4 separate regions of the Homo sapiens genome follow, and all the other regions are linked to region 3. Evidence: promoter capture Hi-C in 16 types of primary human blood cells and fetal thymus (Javierre and others, 2016). All regions are on one chromosome and are shown on one strand. Each heading gives the region's core, a stretch centred on a gene start or on the middle of the fragment in contact. The rest is flanking DNA. Distances are from core to core; before and after follow the strand shown.

Region 1 (5,661 bases), core at 1,536-4,035, 2.1 Mb after region 3:
CTGAAGTGCAGTGGCACAATCTTGGCTTGCTGCAACCTCTGCCTCCTGAGCTGAAGTGATCCTCCCACCTCAGCCTCCTCGGTAGCTAGGACTATAGGCGCATACCACCACATCCAGCTAATTTTTGTATTTTTTGTAGAGATGGGGTTTCGCCATGTTACCCAGGCAGATCTCAAACTCCTGGACTCAAGCAGTCCACCCACCTCAGCCTCCCAAAGTGCTGGGACTACAGATGTGAGCCACCACCCCTGGCCTATATATTTTTTAGTGAAACAGAAGGTGAGATTAGGCCTGGTGCAGTGGCTCATGCCTGTAATTCCAGCATTTTGGGAGGCTGAGGGGGGCAGATGGCTTGAATCCAGGAGTTTCAGACCAGCCTGGGCAACATAGTCAGATCTGGTCTCTTTAAAAAAAAAAAAGTGAGATTATTCACTTGGGGGTTGATAGCTTTATTGAAATATAATTCATGTACCCTAAAATTTACTCATGAAGTGGACAATTCAATGTATTTTAGTACATATGCTGTTTTGTAACCTTTTTCAATAATAGTATTGTACACATTTTTCCTATATTTATTTATTTATTTATTTTTTTGAGACAAGAGTCTTGCTCTGTCGCCCAGGCTAGATTGCAGTGGTGTGATCTCGGCTCACTGCAAGCTCCGCCTCCTAGGTTCACACGATTCTCCTGCCTCAGACTCCCGAGTAGCTGGGACTACAGGCATATGCCACAACACCTGGCTAATTTTTTGTATTTTTAGTAGAGATGGGGTTTCACTGTGTTAGCCAGGATGGTCTCAATCTCCTGACCTCGTGATCCACCTGCCTCGGCCTCCCAAAGTGCTGGGATTACAGGTGTGAGCCACCGCGCCTGGCCTTTCCTATGTTTTTAATACTTTTCTATAATTTTTTAATGGCTGCATACTGGTGCACTGTCTAGCTGCTCTATAGTTATTTGATTGTTTCCAGGGATAGTTATTGAAAGCATGTGGCCAGTAAGGGGTTTATCGTTGGAATCTGTTGGTTACATATAATTATATATACTTGCATAGGGCCTTATAATCTTTTTTCCTCCTGAATATGTGCACCATTAAAGTTTTAGTATGTGCTTTTTAAAAAGTTGTATTATCAAAATGACATTTTCTTAATATCTTTCAGATTCAATTAGCAGAGCCTCACAGACAATGGCCAAATGTGTCAAAGCTGTCACAGAGGGTGCCCAGGCAGTAGAGGAACCATCCATATGCTGAAGCTTCTACTAGGATCCCAGTTTTGCCGCAGATAATTAATGGACAACTGTAGTGCAGTGATCCTTTACAGGTTTATTTCTTTGTAAAAAAAAATAATAATAATTTGAATCATGTAATATTTAAGGTTATACTATGCCTATTTGAAAATGATATTAGTTATCAACTTTGCAGTTTGAAAAACATGTATTGTGTGTAAAGGTTAAATAACAAAACTATGCAGATGCTCTTAAAAGCATTGATAACCTTTGTGACGAACATAAAGAGATCCTTAAATTATGAGTTGTTGGCTTATCTTCATAAATAATTTGTCTGTAAAATGGATGAAATGAAAAGAGGTTCAATTAAAACCTACTTTTTTCTAGTGCTAAAGAAAAGATTTAAGCACCTTGTCAAGCTGGGTAAATAGGAAAAATACATAATCATGCTCAGATATGTATCTAGGATAATTATAATTAATAATAATCATAGTAACAATGGCTAATGATAATTTAGCTTTATTATATGTGCTAAGCACTCTGGTTTTACATGCATTATCTTCTTTTGTTCTTGCTACAACCCTGTGAGATAGTAGTATTATCTCATTTTACTGATGAAGACTGAAGCCTAGGTATATTAAATAGCTTGCCCAAGGCCACACAGCAAAAGTCACCAACTCAAACCTACTTCTTATTTACTCCAAAGCCTGTTGTTCTTAACTGCAACATATTATTTCGTCTCATTAATGTTGATTCTATAGGTTGTTACTTCTAAAAATTAGTATTGAGTTTAATGGTGAACACATTTTTCTATTTTCTCTTGAATCTGCTTCTATAATGTCATGGTGATTTATGTGGCTTTTTTTTTTTTATAAGTTATACATGTATGCATGTATACTTATGAGACCTCCCTTGGAATGAGGGAGGTCTCAAGAGATATAATTTAGATTCTCATTGATGTTCTGTATTCATTATCCTAACACCATCTGTAGTGTTAAATCAACTAAATTATTTCAGCAATAGGAGACAAAACAACCAGCTTTCATAATTTTTAATTGTCAAAACCAAAAGGAATCAGAATAAGGATCACTGAGAATTTAAAAAAATAAAAAAGGAAGTAAAAATTTTACAATTAGGAGATAATTAAAAATAGATAATTTTTTTTTTTAATCTAAGGTTGGGTGTGGTGGCTTACACCTGTAATCCCAACACTTGGGGGGCCAAGGTGGGTGGATCGCTTGAGCCCAGGCAGTTGGAGACCAGTCTGGGCAACATGGTGAAACCCCATCTCTACAAAAAATACAAAAATTAGCTGGGTGTGGTGGTGTACACCTATAGTCCCAGCTACTCGGAAGGCTGAGGTGGGAGGATCACCTGACCCAGGAGGTTGAGGCTGCAGTGAGCCGTGATTGCGCCACTGCATTCCAGCCTGGGCAACAGAGCAAGACTTTGTTTCAAACAAACAAACAAAACTATGTTCACAATTTATTTGTTTTGTAATCCTTATTCTTTTCTGCTTTCACTAAAGACTCAGCCCAAGTATAGGATGCCCTTTTTCCCTTTGTTTTTTTTTTTTTTTTGAGATGGAGTCTTACTCTGTCACCCAAGGCTGGAATGCAGTGGCATGATCTTGGCTCACTGCAATCACCACCTCCCTGATTCAAGCGATTCTCCTGCCTCAGCCTCCCCGGTAGCTGGGATTACAAGCGCACGCCACCACACCTGGCTAATTTTTGTATTTTTAGTAGAGACAGGGTTTCACCAATTTGGCCAGGCTGGTCTTGAACTCCTAACCTCAGGTGATCTACCTGCCTTGGCCTCCCAAAGTGCTGGGATTACAGGCGTGAGCCACCGCGCCCAGTCTAGGATGTCGTTTTTCTGATACAACAAAGGATAAGGTTTTAGAATAATAGTATGTTACAATATCTTTAAAAACAGCAGGTGCAGTGGCTCACACCTGTAAGCCCAGCATTTTGGGGGTTCAAGGCAGGAAGATCAGTTGAGGCCAGGAGTTCAAGACCAGCCTGGACTGCATAGCAAGATCCTATTTGTACAAAAAAATGTAAAACTTAAAATTGCACAAAATTTGTCACCTGTACCAGCTTTTAGAACTGTTTATCTTATCCTCCTCAGTGATACATCATGAAGTTGTGTGCTTTGCCTAAAATGCCCAGTTACCTGAAATTGTATAAATTCTTGCCAAAAGTGTTTGAACTTAATACAAACTTCCCATCTCTTACCTCTTAGCACTGTGCTCATCTTGAGGGGACATAGTCCCAATTTTGTATTTTATATAATACTGTTAATGAATATGTGTAGACTTCATATGGTTGTGGGTAAGAGAATACTGCATTCAGATAGAAAAGATGCTATATAGCTAAGTTGATCCAGGATCCTTGGGCTACCTGCTAGGCAGCTTGTGGTGAACAATCATAATCTCTAAAAAATACCTTGTCTGGACCGGGCGCGGTGGCTCACACCTGTAATCCCAGCACTTTGGCAGGCTGAGGCGGGCAGATCATTGAGGTCAGGAGTTTGAGACCAGCCTGGCCAACGTGGTGAAACCCTGTCTCTACTAAAAATACAAAAATTAGCCAGGCATGGTGGCACATGGCTGTAATCCCAGCTACTGGGGAGGCTGAAGCAGGAAAATCGCTTGAACTGAGAGTCAAGGCGGAGGTCGCGGTAAGCCGAGATCACACCATTGCACTGCAGCCTGGGTGAAGAAACAAGCCTCCCTCTCAAAAAATAAATAAATAAATAAATAATACCTCCTCTGGGATAAGTAGTGCTCCGTCTGTCTCATGGGCACATATTAGTGTCGTAATGCCAAATACTAAGGTTATTGTAAGCATAAACATTGAAGATAATTGCTAGAGAAAAATAGACTGAAAAAGATGTAAGAAAAATACACGTAGATGAGAGTAACCTGTCTGGTGGAATCATGACATTCTAAGCAGTGAAGGAATCACCAATGAGAAAATCTACAAAGGCTCAAGATCAAGTCTCTTTAGGTGAATAAGGCAATCTAGAAAGACCTTGGAATAATAATACCATTTCCTGAGGACCTTCTAAATAAGTGCCATTAAAGCTTTAAATACATTAAGACTATTCTTCACAAAATCTCTGCTAATAGTAGGTATTAATTGAGACTCAAGAAATATCAAATAACTTATTTATGGCTACACAGCTAGATACTAATGGCAGGAGTGTTTAATTAGAAGTACTTTTACTATCCCAGGTTGCCTCAAATGAAAACATTTTGGACAGCAATGTAAGGTGAATAGCTGAGCATGATGGCACAAGCTATAGCCCCAGCTACTTGGGAGGCTGAGGCACAAGGATTGCTTGAGCAAATGAGTTGAGTCCAGCATGGACAACTGTATTCCTGCAGCCTGCTTGTATTCCTCTCCTCAAAGTGCTTTTTCCTTCTCTGCCACATGACTAGTCTGTGAATTTTCCAAACTTCTACGCTCTGCTTCCCTTTTAAATATGTTCCAACTTTAAGTTATTTCTTTGCTTCCATATCTGATTGTAGGCTGCTAGCATCAGCCAGGCCACATCTTGAATGCTTTGCTGCTTAGAAATTTCTTCTGCCAGATACCCTGATACCCTAAGTCATCACTCTTAAGTTCAAACTTCCACAGATTCCTAGGGCCTGGACACAATGCACCCAAGCTATTTGCTAAAGCATGACATAGATGTACCTTTATTCCTGTTCCCAATAACTTCCTCATTTCCATCTGAGACCTCATCACTCTGGACTTCACCATATGTCTATCAGCATTTTGGTCACAACCACTTAACTAGTCTCTAAGTTCCAAACTTTCCCTCATCTTTCTGTCTTCTGAGCCCTCCAGATTCTTCCAACCTCTGCCTGTTACCCAGTTCCAAAGCTGTTTCTACATTTTCCAATATGTATAGCAGTGCCCCACTGTCAGTACTAATCTGTTTTAATCTGTTTGCATTACTGTAAAGGAATATCTGAGATTGGGTAATTCTTGCAAAAGAGAGATTTAATTGGCTTACAGTTTCTGCAGGCTGTACACAAAGCATGGCACCAGCAGCTGCTTCTGATGAGGGCCTCAGGAAGCTTACAATCATGGTAGAAGGCAAAATGGGAGCGAGCATATCACATGGTGAGAGAGGGAGCAAGAGAGAGGAGGAGGTCCCAGACTCTAAACAACCAAATTTCACATGAACTAAGATCTCACTCATCACCAAGGTGATGGTGCCAAGCCATTCATGAAGGATTTGCCCCATGATTCTATACCTCCCACGAGGCCCTACCTCCAGCATTGGGGGTTACATTTCAACATGAGATTTGGAAGTGACAGCCATCCAAACCATATCAGCAACATAACAAGACCCCCAACTCTTAAAAAAAAAAGTTGAATATATATCCAAAAATATCTTGAATTCCATATGGAAAGCCTC
Region 2 (5,364 bases), core at 1-2,500, 2.2 Mb before region 3:
CGCCGCCGCCGCCCTCGCAACTCGGCCGAGGCCCCTATCTCAACCTAGTTTCTGTTTTTCCCCTGTTCTGCAGGCTTGCTTCCGGCGTCATGGCTCAAAGGGCCTTCCCGAATCCTTATGCTGATTATAACAAATCCCTGGCCGAAGGCTACTTTGATGCTGCCGGGAGGGTGAGTTTAGGATATGTCTGCCTGCATCCCTGCCTCTCCCCACGGTGTTCGGAAAGGTGCTCATTTTTGCCTGAGAGAGTTGAGCATCCCCCTTTAAAAAAATACATGATTCGACGATAAATACGTAAATTATTTAAAAATACATGTTAATATATACAAATTGAGCTCTAACATAATGTTAAATGTGTCATTGTTAACATTATTAATTGAAATAAACTCAATTATTGATAGTATAAATTTTAAAAATTGGCAAATATGTAGTTTACTATGTAATTGGCATTTTTTAATGTATTTTGGTTTGCTTCTTAAAAAGAGGTGAAGAATCCTAACGGTATTCACATGTGCCGTGTTACTCCTTTGTGATTATACACAAGTGCGTTCAGGGTAATGATGAGAGCAAACGGTGGTGTATGGTAAGGACGTCTTTAAACTGTTAGTGCTTAGAGAATTTGGGGACCTAGGAAACCTGAAGTTCTTTGTACCGGTGTCACTCCACAGGGCATATCCACAGCTGGAAAACAAAAAAAAAGAAACTTGTAAATTAAACTGGTTAGCATGTCACAAATCACTGTGCAAAAGAGAACCTGGATGTAAAATACTAGGGGCCTGTGTTTTCTCATGCCTCATTGGGTGAACATAATTGTTAAGAGGGAATACAGATATTTTTAAGAATACCTACTTTTGGCTGGGTGCAGTGGCTCACACCATTAATCCCGACACTTTGGGAAATCAAGGCAGGAGGATTGCTTAAGGCCACGAGTTTGAGACCAGCCTGTGCAACACAGCAGGACCTTATCTCTACTAAAATTTTTTTAAAAATTAGCCAGGTGTGGTGGAAAGCTTGTAGTCCCAGCTACTTGGGAGGCTGAGGCGGGAGAATTGCTGGAGCCTAGGAGATTCGAGGCTGTAGTGAGCTATGATTGCACCACTGCACTCTAGCCTGGGTGACAGAGACCCTGTCTCTAAAAAATAAAAAAATAAAATTTAGTTTTGAAAATGAGTTAAGTTGGAAACAAGGCACACGCTTTAAAAATTTTACCAGTTTATTTCTTTGAAACTTGTCAGCCATACAAAAGACATTTTATGTGATATAAAGGCCTTACAGATTTCATCCCTGTCAAATTAATCTGTGGGTCTGATGGTTGTTTTTTTCCTTAAAACACTTGTCACATTATAGATTAACTTGGGTCAGTAATGCAGGTAGGAGGAATCAAAGAGATGAAGAAGAGGTGTAGGGTAGAAGGCTACCAAAATGTATATGGAGTTTGAGTCAATCTGATTATTTTAAGACTAGTATTAAGCTGCCCAAACAAAGCTTTTTATAATTATCTTCAGGTCAGATGGATTCCCTTTGGCCATTTGGGCCTGCATTCTGCTTAGCTGTGCAGATTCTCAAGCTGAAGTATGTGTCTTGTCTTGCGGGAGGAGGACTTGCTGCTTCATACTGACTTGGCAAAGAGAACAGTTGAGGATTGTCCTAGTGACAGAAACCTTCAATAAAATGTACCTATTTAGACTGCCTATAAAGTAAATGCTTTTTATGAATTTAACCCTTTATTTATTTATTTATTTATTTTTATTTTTATTTTTTTAGACGGAGTCTCACCCTGAGCCCAGGCTGGAGTGCAGAGGCACAGTCTTGGCTCACTGCAACTTCTGCCTCCCAGGCCCAAGTGACTCTCATGCCCCAGCCTCCTGAGTAGCTGGGATTACAGGTGCACACCACCGCACCTGGCTAATTTTTTTTTTTTTTTGTATTTTTAGTAGAGGCAGGGTTTCACCATGTTGGCCAGGCTGGTGTCGAACTCCTGACCTCAAGTGATCCACCCATCTCAGCCTCCCAAAGTGCCGGGATTACAGGTGTGAGCCACCATGTCGGGCCAAATTTAACCCTTTGTTTCTAAGGGGAAAAATTCACAAATTTAAACCCTGACCCAAGAGTAATAATGTAGTTTATTGCCTAACGTAGTTTTTGGACAGGTCCTAGAAAGGAAGTAGCATACCAGTTCTAAAATTGTGTAATGTTGAACACGGAGGATCAAACCCTGGAGATCTGTCCTCCTTAATTTCTTAACACAAGATTTCAGTAAGGAACTGGTCTGTTTTCTGGCATCTGTCAGAAAAAAATAGAAAAGAAAAAAGGACTTTTAGAGACTTCAGATTATAGCTAGAGTTTGAATGATTTGGTGGTGTACCACAAGCAATCAATATTCTCACAGAGGTCACCTTTATTAAATGCAGAATGTGCCAAACAGAAAGTAACTTCCCTTCATAAGGCTGAGAGATTCTCATTATTCTTGATCTCTTGAAGGCCAGGCAAGATGATAAATTATATATGATCTATATACAGTAGATGACGTGTTCTCAATATAGATGCACTCTTCTATCTAGCTGAGATTTATAGGCCTTTTGTATTAACATTGAAGTATATTTTATCCTACTAAATGTATTTTCAAGTCTAGTTGAAATCTTAACCTCTTTGCAGAAATTGTTAAATAATGGGAGTGTGTCTGTCAAACAACGTCGTTTCTTCTAAAGAGTGAAATAAGGGATCATAGTGGTGCTTTAGATTAAATAATCCAGATGTGGTTGAAAGTCTGATTTGCCTTATCAAGGATGCTCCTCCGAAGTGAATCTTAACGTATCCTTAAACTATTGTTGTTGTTGTTAATTCTGATACTGCCTTCTTGCTGTTTTCAGTGTTAAGATTTTATCTCATTTTTAAAAATGAGATTCTGATGTGAGTGGTTAGGTTTATTTCTACAATCCTTACATGGTAAAATAAAATGTTTATACCCTTGTAACTTTCCCCCACATTGTTCTGAAATTTTAATTACTATGTGAAATTCAAGTCTTAGAATCACAGCAAGTTCTTAAAATTATTGAGGGAGACAATAAAGTGAGTTTTTTGGGTTTTTGTTGTTGTTGTTGTTGTTGTTTGAGATGGAGTTTCGCTCTTGTTGCCCAGGCTGGAGTGCAGTGGCACGATCTCGGCTCACCACAACCTCCATCTCCCAGGTTCAAGGAATTCTCCTGCCTCAGGCTTCCGAATAGCTGGGATTACAGGCGTTCACCACCATGCCCGACTAATTTTGTATTTTTAGTAGAGATGGGGTTTCTCCATGTTGGTCAGACTGGTCTCGAACTCCTAACCTCAGGTTATCCGCCCACCTCGGCCTCCCAAAATGCTAGGATTACAGGCATTAGCCACTGTGCCCGGCCTTCAGTGACTTTTTAAGACACTGATTCAGTGTGTGCAGAAGTTTAAAATTATTTTTCATTTGCCTTTAAGAAGAATAACGTAATGATTGTGTGAGCCTCACTGTTTGCACAGCATCTGTGGACCTTCATATGGGTGGTACTAACCCCACAGCCCCAGCCTTAGTGTATTTTCAATCCATATCTAAACTATTACTTGCCTTAGACCCTTGATCTGCTAAAGAATTAGTAAAAATGTCAACATTTACATCCCTGAATGAGAAAGACTTGTGATACACTATCTCATTTAATCCCCAAAGTACCTTTTGAAATTGGCGTGGCAGTTATTATTATCCTGACTTTATGGAGGTATTTGAAACATAAAGAAGTTATGAGTTGAGCAAGATCAGCTAATAGCGGGTAAGGATGTAGACAGGCTCATTCATTGAGAAACATTTGTGAAGCCCGTATTCTCTGCCAGACACTGTGCTGGACGTGGGTTTATGATGCTAAGTTTGATATTCTTTCTATTCTGCTTAAGGCTCTTGATATACATGAATTTGTTTTGCTTTTCTTTGGCTACTTCATTTTTTTTAAATCCTTTTTTTTAAATAAGAGCAATTAGATGTTTCTTTAGGGAATTTACCTTGCTGCAGCTTGAATACTAAAAATCCAGTAGTTTGAAAGCACCAAACATCTGATTTGTGCTTAATTTAATAAAAAGACTTTATTATAATATTGGTTTAAATAATAGACGATTACTATTAGGTGGAAAATTACTGTGAGCCAGTTTATCATTGGCAGTCTGTTTTAGTATTTAACTAAAAATTTTATTTAAAACATGTATAAGTTACAACGGTATTTTATAAATTTTGTTAATGTGATGTTGTTGTTTAAGAATAGAAAATAAATTGTTTAGTCTTCCAGGTGGAAAAATATGTCCTAAGTGGAAAAGAAATACCTTTCTGTCTTTGATAGCTTATAGTCCAGCAAGCTGGGTGACCCACATTATTTTGATACTTGTTTTCCTTTAATATCTAGCTGACTCCTGAGTTCTCACAACGCTTGACCAATAAGATTCGGGAGCTTCTTCAGCAAATGGAGAGAGGCCTGAAATCAGCAGACCCTCGGGATGGCACCGGTTACACTGGCTGGGCAGGTATGAAGTGCTGACTGTGAGCTGGCATAAGCATTGTGCTTAAGAGCCAGAGCATTTTTCCGAGAGCTGTCTGTCTGAATGGTACACCCTTAAATGCTTCCTGCATCTGCATATGAGTAATTGCTTCTGGGAGAGTGCTGTGCCCTCAACCCAACCAACCATGGTATCTTCTGGGTTTTTAATAGTGCCCTGAATTTAGGGCATGGTAAGCATATTCATGTAATTCATGCCTGACATTTGGATGGCTGCTATACTTGTGAGGAGAAAAATTGATTTTCAATATTACATAGTTAATTTGCAGATGTAATTTCAGTGGGAAGAATTGGGAAGAGTTCCAAAATACAATGCCTGAAGCGGAGGTAATGAGGATTGATCTCAGGAATAAAATATGTCCAGAAGCATGTTTTAAAAAGTTAACCCGTAACAGGAATCCATACAGGAATCCATACAGGGTAAAGTATTACTTCCATGAACTAATCCTCCCATATGGTCATTGCTGTTTGGTTTGCAATTGCTGCATTGCCAATCTCAATCATTGAGAGGCTGGAGGAGGTTTAGGAAGAAACAGTGCATTGATGTCAAAAAAAGGTGAGAAAGAGAAAAATCAAAGAAGAGGCTGGGCGCAGTGGCTCACACCTGTAATCCCAGCACTTTGGGAGGCCGAGGCGGGTGGATCACGAGGTCAAGAGATCAAGACCATCCTGGCCAACACTGTGCAACCCCATCTTTACTAAAACTACAAAAATTAGCTGGGCATGGTGGCTCATACCTGTAGTCCCAGCTACTCAGGAGGCTGAGGCAGGAGAATCACTTGAACCTGGGAGGTGGAGATTGCAG
Region 3 (5,275 bases), core at 1-2,500:
ACTTGAACCCAGGAGGCGGAAGTTGCAGTGAGCCGAGACTGCACCAGCCTGTCAGGGCAAGACTCTGTCTCATAAATAAATAAATAAATAAATAAATATTGGAGCATTAAATTCTGGGCAGCAATATACAAGCATGCTATTGTCCTACAAATCACAATATAAAATACTCTTTATTTTCATGTTTTTGAGAGCAATGAACACACAAAATATAATCTCTGGAGGAGACTAAAATTCTTTTTTCAATCCACCGTTTTCTAAGGCTTCACATCTCTAGTCCAACTTCATTGGATCACAGATAATCCCCCGCCAACTGAGCATGGTGGCTCACGCTTGTAATCCCAGGACTTTGGGAGGCCGAGGAGGGCCAATCACTTGAGTCCAGGAGTTCGAGACCAGCCTGGGCTGCTGAAACCCATCTCTACCAAAGGAAAAAGAAAAGAAAAGAAAGAAAGAAAAATTAGTTGAGTGTGATTGTGTGCACCTGTAATCCCAGCTACTCGGAAGGCTGAGGTGGGAGGATCTCTTGAGCCCAGGAAGTCAAGGCTGCAGTGAGCGGTGATCGCTCCACTGCACTCCAGCCAGGGCAACAGAGCAAGGCCCTGTCTTAAAAAAGAAAATAATAAGAATCCCATTCATTATCTTCTAATGCAAACAATCAATGGAGTTTCTAAAGACCTAGACATAGGTGGTGTCAGGACCTGCTTCTGTAACTTTTCCATCCTTTGCATTAGGCAGCGCGGAACCCCCTAGGCGACCCCGCGCTGGCCGGGAGCACTCTTTCTTCAGCCAAAGGTACGTTCCATTACCGCCCCTCGGGGGCGCGCTAGGCAGCGGGCCGGCCAAGCTGCCGCCGCCCAGGGCGCCCTGTCCCGTTCGCTTTTGTGCCGACCTGGAAACACTCTGTGGTGCTCTAGATTGTTACAAAGTTCGGGGTGGTGCAGCCCCAGCGCGCCCCGCTCCCCGGCCTGCAGGTGGCATACAAGTCTCTTCGCTGTCGGGATTCGGGACTGAATCTCTGCCGGGCGGCAACCCCTTCCCCCACCGGGATCACCGGGAAAGTGGCACCATGGATTCTCCATCTTTGACTGTGGCCACGCCCCTCTCGCTGACTCCGCCCATCCCACGGGAATTGGCGTGTGGCGATTGGAGGCGTGTCGGGGGCGGGGCTGGGGGAGGTGGGCTGAGGAGGCGGGGCCTGGGAGGGGACAAAGCCGGGAAGAGGAAAAGCTCGGACCTACCCTGTGGTCCCGGGTTTCTGCAGAGTCTACTTCAGAAGCGGAGGCACTGGGAGTCCGGTTTGGGATTGCCAGGCTGTGGTTGTGAGTCTGAGCTTGTGAGCGGCTGTGGCGCCCCAACTCTTCGCCAGCATATCATCCCGGCAGGTAACCTCAGGCTCCAAGGGGCGGCCCCGGTCCCTGGCTGTGGAGGGGTGGCTCTAATTCCGCAGAAGGCAGGAATGGGGTAAAGGAAAAAAGCGCAGATCTTGGGTGTGGAGGGAGTCAAGGCCTGCGTGCAAAGAAGGGAACAAATCCAGGTATTGAGAATGGGAAAAGAAAAGGGAAGGAGGGGATGCTGGATGCTTGGATATGCAGAAGGTCTGCTTTTGGGCCTGGGAGGGAGAAACTGGGCGGTGAGGAAGTTGGATGCAACGACAAGGGGAAAATCAGGTCTGCACTTGGGTTGGAAAATCGAGGGGTGGAAGTTGCAAGAATGCATGTAGAAGACTAAGCCTGGAGTGTAGGAGGAAGAAAACGTGCAGCAGCTGGGGGCTGGATGCAAAGAAGGCTGTAAGCCGCAGACGGGCGTCTGCAGGCAACTCAGGCGGCGAGGAATAGCCTTGAAGCCGATCCCTCGCGTCCGCCAGGGGGCGTGGAGGGGCGGAGCTCCAGCGGCCTTCAGAGGGGTCGCTAGGCCACACGGGGCGAGAGGGGGCTGGGGGAAACACCCCCGCCAGTTCCGGGTGCCTGGAGTTTAAAAGGTCCCAGCACCAGCGAGGGGAGGGGAGGGGAGGGGCGGGCGTGGAGACCTGGAAGGAGGTACCGATCCAGCCTTGATTGCAGCCCTCTTGCACAACGGCCATAAGGACGGGTGCAGGCCAAGAGCAAGGACATGCAAACCCCAAGACCTGCTAACGGGCGGCGAAGCGGGGGCACGCCCTCGCACACGCAGAGATAAATTGTGCTCCCATGACCTTTATTTGGAAAGTGCCTGCGGGCCTAAAATTGGCCTTTGTCCCACCGAGTACACTCAGCACTGTACTTTAAACCGGATAAACTGGGCTGTCTGGCAGGTACTAAAAACAGCTAAATTCTCCTGTGAGTGTTCTGTATGTTAACACTTTTATTCCTTGTTTTGTTTTAGGCGATAAACTACATTCAGTTGAGTCTGCAAGACTGGGAGGAACTGGGGTGATAAGAAATCTATTCACTGTCAAGGTGAGAATTAGCAAATTTTCCCCCTTCTTCTGTACTTTCTTTGATGTGGCAGTACAGTGTTTAACTGGTCTTGGGGGCAGGCCGAGGCACTGCAAGGGAATGAGTGAGGAATATTTCCAACAACGAATTCCAACAGCTTCCTTGTTTCTTTTAATACAGTGTCTTATCTGCAAGAGATCCTTTTTGCCCAGAAATTATTGTAGTTCATGAACTCGGCAAAAAACAATCTGGCCAAAAACTTGAGGTTGATGAAAATAATATTAAATGGCTCTTTTTTTTCATTAAACTACTCTGTATTGTTATTCCAGGTTTATTTTCTGGAATTGCACAATTATGTTAGGAGATAGGATTCAGCTACTTCATATGAGCTGGTGCCTGCTGGTCTTGGAACAGCCCTTCCTTCTGAAGTTGGGATTGGGTTGGAGACAAAATCTGAGGGGCAACAAAGGTGGAGAAGTCAGTCCAGTGGGGCCTCAAGCCCATCCCATGGAAATCAGATCCAGAAGAAATACAATTATGTTCCACATGGTAGTAACAATAAAGCTTCACTGTTTTAGTTAAAAGATGGTAAAAATTTCATGGCTAAGTAATGTGAGGAAAACCTGAAGCGTCTGAAGTATGCATTATGAGATAAAGAAAGATTACTGCAGAGAGTACAGTTGCTTTAACTGAGAAGGAAATAGTGAACTAAAAAGATATCAGTCTTCACATTTTAGGTACAATATTTGACCTCTATTAACTGTATTTGCCATCAAGAATAAATTGCCATGTCATGACTGTTGCATCATACTATATAGGGACATGGCCATGGAAGTGTATTATCAGGAACCAGATAAGTTCACTGCCTCCTTTTTTGCTTTGTTTTAAAACAAGGATAGGTGTGACAGTGGAATCAAACATGAACTGAATCATATGCTTTCAGCTGTACTACAAATTATACTTGACATTACAAATGGGAAGTAATTGACTCATCCACACCATTCTGTTCATTTCTTTTAGTCTAGTTCAGTTCCAGAAGGTTCCCCCAAAGGAATCTCCTAAACACTAGTAAGAAGAATTCTAGAATTGCGAATTTGGGAAGTGAAAATGGGCCTGGGGATTGGAAATACATCCAGGCTTGTCAAGAAACAGACGCTTACTGTCTACTAATCATTACATTTTTATTTAAAGACCAAATTACTTTAGCTCAATTTTTCAAGAAAGACTATTTTAGGCTTCTTATCTAATAATTCTTTAAAGTCAATTCTCTTGACTTTTTTAGTCCTTAAGAGAATAAAAGCAATTTGCAGCTGTGTTGTTGGATTAAAAAAGAGTTTCGATTAGAGCATCATTAGAAGGAATAGATAACTTTTAGCAGGCTCAGAGCTTCTTCTGCCTCTAGGGACAAGCTGGGACAGTTTCATTTCTTCCAAAGCGTCCAACCTTGCACTTTCTGAGAATCAGATTGATTTGTATATGCTACCCCCACACCCTATCCTTAAAGTGCTGTCTTCCTAGGACAATGCACAGTTTGTCCTATCCCACTCACTAGCAGCTTACCCTTGCCTGTGAACAGCCAGAAGAAGATGACAGGGACATGCTTGGGTCCTGGGCAGTGGCCCTACTGTATAGAGATTCTTCTAATTGAGAAATCACTTTGTTGTATTTAGCCCCACATCTCCAATGTCTGTGTTATCTCTAGGAAAACAGTTCCACCAGGAATTCTTCGTCTCGCTTTTAGACTTAAAGTTTCCCTGAATATGGGTCACAGGAACCAGCTGAATCTCCTCATGGCTAGTTATTTTTATTAAATAACAAAAACAGCCTCTTAAAGGAGGAGAAATGCTAGCACTCACCATTCTGGACATCTTGAGAGCCCAGTAAAATGATGAGTTGGACTGAAGTGTTCAATAAACATGAGATTGTGGAAATAATCTCATTTCTTAAGACAAACCAGTAGTTGAGAATAATGATTGCATTATGAAGGGCACGTTATAGGGTCAGGCTCTGCCACGCTCTAGCTAGGTGGCCTTGGGAAAGCTCTTTTTTTTTTAACAAAGTAAAATGGGGAAATGATGGCCATTTTTTTGGATTGTTATGAGGGCTAGCTCAGAAACCGCGTGTGAAACATAACACAATACTTTGTTCAGAGAAGATACTCAATTCTAATGGTAAATAGAATTGCTGTTACTAGCTTTTTATTCAACTACACATAAATTGAATTGCATGAATTGTTCTTTTAGTAGTCACTACGTTGTTTATATAAACACTACGTTGTTTATATATTTCACTTTATAATGAAATAAATGACAAGGCATGTATTTTTTTTTTCTTTTTAGGTTTATTGAAGTCAAAATGTCCAAAAAAATCAGTGGCGGTTCTGTGGTAGAGATGCAAGGAGATGAAATGACACGAATCATTTGGGAATTGATTAAAGAGAAACTCATTTTTCCCTACGTGGAATTGGATCTACATAGGTAAATGAGTTACCCCTCCGTGTAGCAAACTCAGAAAGGATAATCTGGCTGGGCATGGTGGTGCACACGTGAAGTCCCAGCTACTTAGGAGGCAGAGGCAGGAGGATCCCTCAAGACCAGGAATTCAAGTCCAGCCTGGGCAACAGAGTGAGACCCCATCACTTTAAAAAAAAAAGGAAAAAAAAGGGAAGGAGAAACAGGAAAAAAAAAAAGAATATAATCTGAATTATTTTGAGGTGAAGTTAGCTTTTTTTATATAGATATAGCTGTGTTTTGTGAATAAAGTTTGTTTTAAGCCTAAATATATTCAGATGAATCTTCTAATTTTAACATACTGCTAGAAAAACTGGATTTATCATCTAAAAGTCAAGAATTATAAGGGAA
Region 4 (5,406 bases), core at 1,637-4,136, 2.1 Mb after region 3:
TCTAGGACTGTGCTCACCTTTAAAAATATACTCATTTCTTTTTAGTGTTTGGAAAATCATCTCTTTGTGATCATGAATAAGAAAGGAAATAATTTTGCTGGACTTGACCATTGATGACACATTTTTTATCTTGTAGGTTTGCAAGTGAGATTGCAGGAGTAGATGATTTGGGAACAACAGGCAGAGGAAATGATATGCAAGTTGGCACATACATTGAAAAGATGTTCATGTCTGAACTGTCTGGGAATATCATTGATATCTGCCCTGTAGGTGCCCTAACCTCTAAGCCCTATGCCTTTACTGCCCGGCCTTGGGAAACAAGGTATCTTTTATTTTATGACAATTTGTTTTTTTGTCCTTAATTCATTACTATTCAAAAAAATATTAAGGTTCATTTTCTTCCTGGGTTTCAGTTGTTTTGGTCTGTTGACTTTGTTTGTTTATGTAAAACCCTTTAAATAGAAGGTAAGTAGTTAGAATGGATTGAACCTGTGCAAATTAACTGTAGTTTTCTTGGAAATTAATTCTAAAGTACTCAACCACAAAATTATTTTTTTCATGTGTTCTTCCAAAGAGTTTAATAGTGTTGACATTTTAAATGTATAGTCTCCCATGTTGTTGTTTATTAAGTTTTCAACTATGAGGAATGTCATTTAGCCAGTTTCTGCTAATAGACATTTAGCTTGTATATTTCTTTATGATTACAAATCTGTAAAAAATATTGCTGTTTACACATTTCTGTGTATATCTCTCATTCTCCTGATTAAACCAAGAAATGGAGTAGATAGATGCAAGAGGTGTGATTATTTTTAAGGTTCTTAAAACATAACAAATTATCATCCAATTTTAAACTTTATACTTTTCAACTTGGGATTTGGCTTTTTGTTTCTGTGTAATTTCTGTGTCCTTACTGAGAATCTCTACTTGCTGATTCGTGGTTGTCATACATCCCCTTCAATTTTTAAATATGATTTTCTTTGGTTCTTTCAACATATTTTAATATTCTTGGTTTTATTTTTAAGTGAGGCTTCTTAGGAGTTCCCCTGTGTCTGCATAGTTTAGTAGTCAGGTATAATTGTACTTCAAACACCGTGACCTAATAAGAGTTATGTTCTTTGCCAATGGATCTGTTTGTGGATGGAGGAGCATATTCAAAGTTGAGGCTGTTTTCAAGTTTGCCCAGCTATTACTTTGCACTGGGCCCTTTGGGTCTCAGAGTTATCCAGGAGTTTATGAATAGGTTGAGCTTTCTCTGGTTTCACCTGCACATGTAGCAGCCTCTGTTAGGAATGCTTGCCGCAATTACCACTACAAACTTAGGCTGGTAAAATCTTGGCTATCCTCAGCTACGATGACCTCCAAAGTATCACCTCCACAAACAAGTTTGCCTCGTGCTCCAAGTTAAGTGAGTTGTCTCCATCTGTACCAAAGAAGTTCTCATCTTCACAGCCTGCCCCGGCCTCGAAGAAATTCCATTTTGAGGGGGTGGAGAGGAGCATAGGAGGAGCACTGAGCCCAGCCACCAGTTTTTCAGTGCATAAAAGCTTCCCACATTGTATGTGTTTAGATTTCTAAACTGCTGAAATGGTGGGTTTTGTCATTTTTGGCCAGCTTTACTTTTGCTTTTCAGTGGGAAGGTTTTTTGAGCTCCTTAATCTCCCATAGACAGAAATCCTGCCCCTCTTGTTGAATCGTCCCAGATTTGGCTAGTTGGAGCCCCTTCAAACTAGCTTCTGTGTCAGATAATAGTTTTAAAGCCTTCCTTACTGTGCCAGGAATTTATGTGTTCAAATGTGGGTGTGCCGGGAGCAGTGGCTCACACCTATAATCCCAGCTTTTAGGAGGCCAAGGTGGGAGGATTGCTTGAGACCAGTAGTTCAAGACCAGCCTGGTCAGCATAATGAGACACCGGCTCTACAAAAAATTTTTAAAATGTGGTGAGAGGATAGTTTGAGCCCAGGAGTTCTAGGCTGCAGTGAATTATGATCATGCCACTGTAGCCTGGGCAACAGAGTGAGACCCCAGGGCAAAAAAAAAGGTGGGGGGTTCTTTTATTTAATTGCAGTTCCTCTAAGCTTCATTTTTTAAAGTAATTCAGAAAGGGAATTAATTGTAAAAAAAATTTTTTGGTAAACCAGGTAACAGAAACTTTCTTTATTCCCAAAAGCACCATAGTAAACACCGTATGTGTTTCTCAGAAAGACAGAATCCATTGATGTAATGGATGCGGTTGGAAGTAATATTGTGGTTAGCACAAGAACTGGAGAAGTGATGAGGATTTTGCCACGTATGCATGAGGACATCAATGAAGAGTGGATCTCTGATAAAACCAGGTATATGCTATATTGTTTTCCTTAACTTTTACAGTTTATTTAAAGGAAATTTTATAATAATTTTGAAGAATTATCTTTTATATTTGCAAATTAGTTACTGAATATAGACTACTGGAATCTGAGTTGCTTATATAATGTGATAATACTGACTTTAATAGTCCTAGGTCAATCCCTGGATATTGTATTTACTTTGAGAAAGATATTTTTTCCTCCCACATGGAGAAATTCAAGTAGATTGATACATTCTCAACTTATTTCAGTTTGTTCATTAGAGAAAAGAAGCTAGGCTGGGCGCAGTGACTCACACCTGTAATCCCAGCACTTTGGAAGGCCGAGGTGGGATGATTGCTTGAAAAAGAAGCTGAATAGAAGAGTTTGCACAATATAATTTTGATAAAATATTTAGAGATACTCATGCTTTGTAAATAAAAATGATTTGACTTTTTTAGCTGTCAGATTTTTTTGTGTTGTAATTTTAAGATTGTTCAGTTAGCTGAAAGTATAAGAAATCAAACTTTTTTTTGTATGATTTAAGGGAAGAAATCAAACTTTCAGATGGTATTTTAGTTTTAGGTGAAGTTCATAAAATCTATTAGTTCATCTCTAAAAATATCTGGAATAATTACTTGTATCTAGGTGTTTAGATATTTGACACTTTAACCAGTACTGTATTTAAATAACATTTCTTGTTGATTTAACTTGAAAATTATAGTTACTTCTTTAGCAAGATTCCACAATGGTGTAATTTCTGTTTTCTAGATTTGCCTATGATGGGCTAAAACGTCAAAGACTTACCGAGCCAATGGTCAGAAATGAAAAAGGGCTTTTAACCTATACTTCTTGGGAGGATGCGCTCTCTCGCGTAGCTGGAATGGTAAAATTTGAAATAAATAGTGTTAAATAGTGTTTGTGATTATCAAGAAACATCTTTGCCATGAAGGGGGGGATGTATATTTCTTCCCTTTTTTACTTTTACCAAGATTATGATTTAATCTCCTTCCATTTTACAGACATCTACTGAGGACATATGCTAGATATTATGCTATTAAGGGATATAAAGACCAGAGACACATCATTCCTGCATCCTACAATCTTGTAGTAGAGAAAGTTGCACAATTCAGCAATTATTATATGCAGCTATGAGTAATTATATAAGGAGTAATATGAGTGAGAGCACGTAGGAGGAATGCCTAACTAGGACAGGCATATCAAGATGCCTTCCTTGGAGGTTGCAGTGAGCCGAGATCGCACCACTGCACTCCAGTCTGGGTGACACAGCGAGACTCCATCTCAAAAAAAAAAAAAGCTGCCTTCCTACAGAAGGTGATTCTTAAAGAAGAATCTGAGAATGAATATAAGCTTGCCAGAGTACAAGTGGAGGGAATAGTTTTCTTGTTAGAGAAAGACAACATAAAGCACTAGAGGGAAAGGCAGATACTTCAGAGGAGGTCGCATTTAAGGTAACTATAGTTCCACTTCATTCTCCAGACCTCATTTTGAAGTGCCTTTGTTCCTAAATATAAAACAGCTTCCTTCTAAGTTGATGTTATTAGCTGTGGCCCCACATAACACCTCTGCAGCTTTTCACTTTTAGATTAATTAATAATTGTTGTACAACTTTTTTTGTGTTTTTGAGATGGAGTTTTGCTGTTGTCGCCCAGGCTGGAGTGCGGTGGCGCGATCTCGATCTCGGGTCACTGCAGCCTCTGCCTCCTTGGTTCAAGCAGTTCTCCTGCCTCATCCTCCCGAGCAGCTGGGGATACAGGCGTATGCCACCATGCCCAGCTGATTTTTGTATTATTAGTAGAGATGGGATTTCACCATGTTGGCTAGGCTGGTCTTAAAGTCCTGACTGCAGGTGATCCGCCCACTTCTGCCTCCCAAAGTACTGGGATTACAGGCATGAGCCAGTGTGCCTGGGCATGTTGTAAAACTTTTAATCAGAAGTCTGTTAACTTTTTTTGTACTTGAAAACAAGTACTGTTTTATTTTCTGAACATTTCATTGTGGTCTTTGCTGCGTGTAGGTTTCTTGGTGATGCCCTTTTCATCTGTTTCTAGTTGCAGAGTTTTCAAGGCAAAGATGTGGCAGCAATTGCAGGTGGCTTGGTGGATGCTGAAGCCCTGGTAGCTCTCAAAGATTTGCTTAATAGAGTGGACTCTGACACCTTATGCACTGAAGAGGTCTTCCCCACTGCAGGAGCTGGGTGAGAAATATGAAGCTAGGATCTAGGCTTTCCTTTCTTTTTTTAGTTACAAGTTATGTATAAAATGTGACAACCTGGATTCTCCAACATATCCCCCAGTTTATTTTCATATATAGACCAAGATCAAACCAGAAGTTGTAGGAAATAGAGGAATCCACTTATCACTAAGTATCTCAGGCACAGTGGCTCACGCCTGTAATCCCAGCACTCTGGGAGGCCAAGGCAGGCAGATCGCCTAAGTGCAGGAGTTTGAGACCAGCCTGGCCAACATGGCGAAACCCCGTCTCTACTAAAAATACAAAAAAATTAGCCAGACGTGGTGGTGTGCGCCTGTAATTCCAGCTACTTGGGAGGCTGAGGCAGGAGAATTGCTTGAACCTGGGAGGTGGAGGTTGCAGTGAGCCAGGATCACGCCACTGCATTCCAGCGTGGGAGACAGAGTGAGACTCTATCTGAGAAAAAAAATAAGTATCTGAAATGTTCATTTAATTTAGAAATACTTCATAAAATTTTTTGTTTGAGAAGGCAATGGGTTTGATGATAGGAGAATATTTCATGGATTCTCTGTATGTCTTAATTTTAAAGTAAATTTGCATTTTATATATTGTATTTCTAGCACAGATTTGCGTTCCAATTATCTTCTTAATACTACAATTGCTGGTGTGGAAGAGGCAGATGTTGTTCTTCTGGTTGGTACAAACCCACGTTTTGAGGCACCACTGTTTAATGCTAGAATTCGAAAGAGGTTGGTAATAGTATTTATTCAAGGTTTAAAAATATTTATGTAATTTTTTTGTTTTATATGTGAAAAATGGCATCTTCCTAATAGTGTTAGTGGTAGTGAGACTCCAAAAGATAACTGGAAGA

Evidence for each region. Contacts are between HindIII fragments. The CHiCAGO score rates a contact against its expected background, and 5 or more counts as called.
Region 1: a contact is called between a fragment that was not itself captured here and the fragment with the promoter of IDH1 in region 3, in 1 of 17 cell types (neutrophils). The highest score is 5.3, in neutrophils.
Region 2: a contact is called between a fragment that was not itself captured here and the fragment with the promoter of IDH1 in region 3, in 1 of 17 cell types (total CD8 T cells). The highest score is 5.9, in total CD8 T cells.
Region 4: a fragment that was not itself captured here is called in contact with the fragment with the promoter of IDH1 in region 3 in 1 of 17 cell types (neutrophils); the score reaches 5.3 in neutrophils.

What each region holds. Positions count from the first base shown.
Region 1 is chr2:206,119,773-206,125,433 of GRCh38, reverse strand. NDUFS1 (NADH:ubiquinone oxidoreductase core subunit S1) reads left to right here. Exons shown (of 19, transcript NM_005006.7): 19 at 1,158-5,661. The coding sequence ends at 1,249. Among named protein-coding and RNA genes, the nearest start is that of INO80D, 36 kb to the right of the region's middle. The HindIII fragment of the contact is 3,064 bases long and covers 1,254-4,317 here.
Region 2 is chr2:210,471,122-210,476,485 of GRCh38, reverse strand. It overlaps LANCL1 (LanC like glutathione S-transferase 1), which reads left to right. Exons shown (of 10, transcript NM_006055.3): 2 at 74-170; 3 at 4,410-4,527. The coding sequence starts at 90. Among named protein-coding and RNA genes, the nearest start is that of LANCL1, 3.0 kb to the left of the region's middle. The HindIII fragment of the contact is 475 bases long and covers 1,013-1,487 here.
Region 3 is chr2:208,251,046-208,256,320 of GRCh38, reverse strand. IDH1 (isocitrate dehydrogenase (NADP(+)) 1) reads left to right here and starts at 1,250. Exons shown (of 10, transcript NM_005896.4): 1 at 1,250-1,382; 2 at 2,362-2,435; 3 at 4,754-4,891. The coding sequence starts at 4,770. IDH1-AS1 (IDH1 antisense RNA 1) reads right to left here and starts at 1,088. Exons shown (of 2, transcript NR_046452.1): 1 at 890-1,088; 2 at 127-418. RefSeq lists an enhancer at 1,016-1,542 and a silencer at 1,996-2,105. The HindIII fragment of the contact is 4,060 bases long and covers 1-2,980 here.
Region 4 is chr2:206,141,819-206,147,224 of GRCh38, reverse strand. It overlaps NDUFS1 (NADH:ubiquinone oxidoreductase core subunit S1), which reads left to right. Exons shown (of 19, transcript NM_005006.7): 8 at 137-322; 9 at 2,199-2,333; 10 at 3,093-3,207; 11 at 4,394-4,539; 12 at 5,156-5,284. Among named protein-coding and RNA genes, the nearest start is that of NDUFS1, 15 kb to the left of the region's middle. The HindIII fragment of the contact is 1,617 bases long and covers 2,078-3,694 here.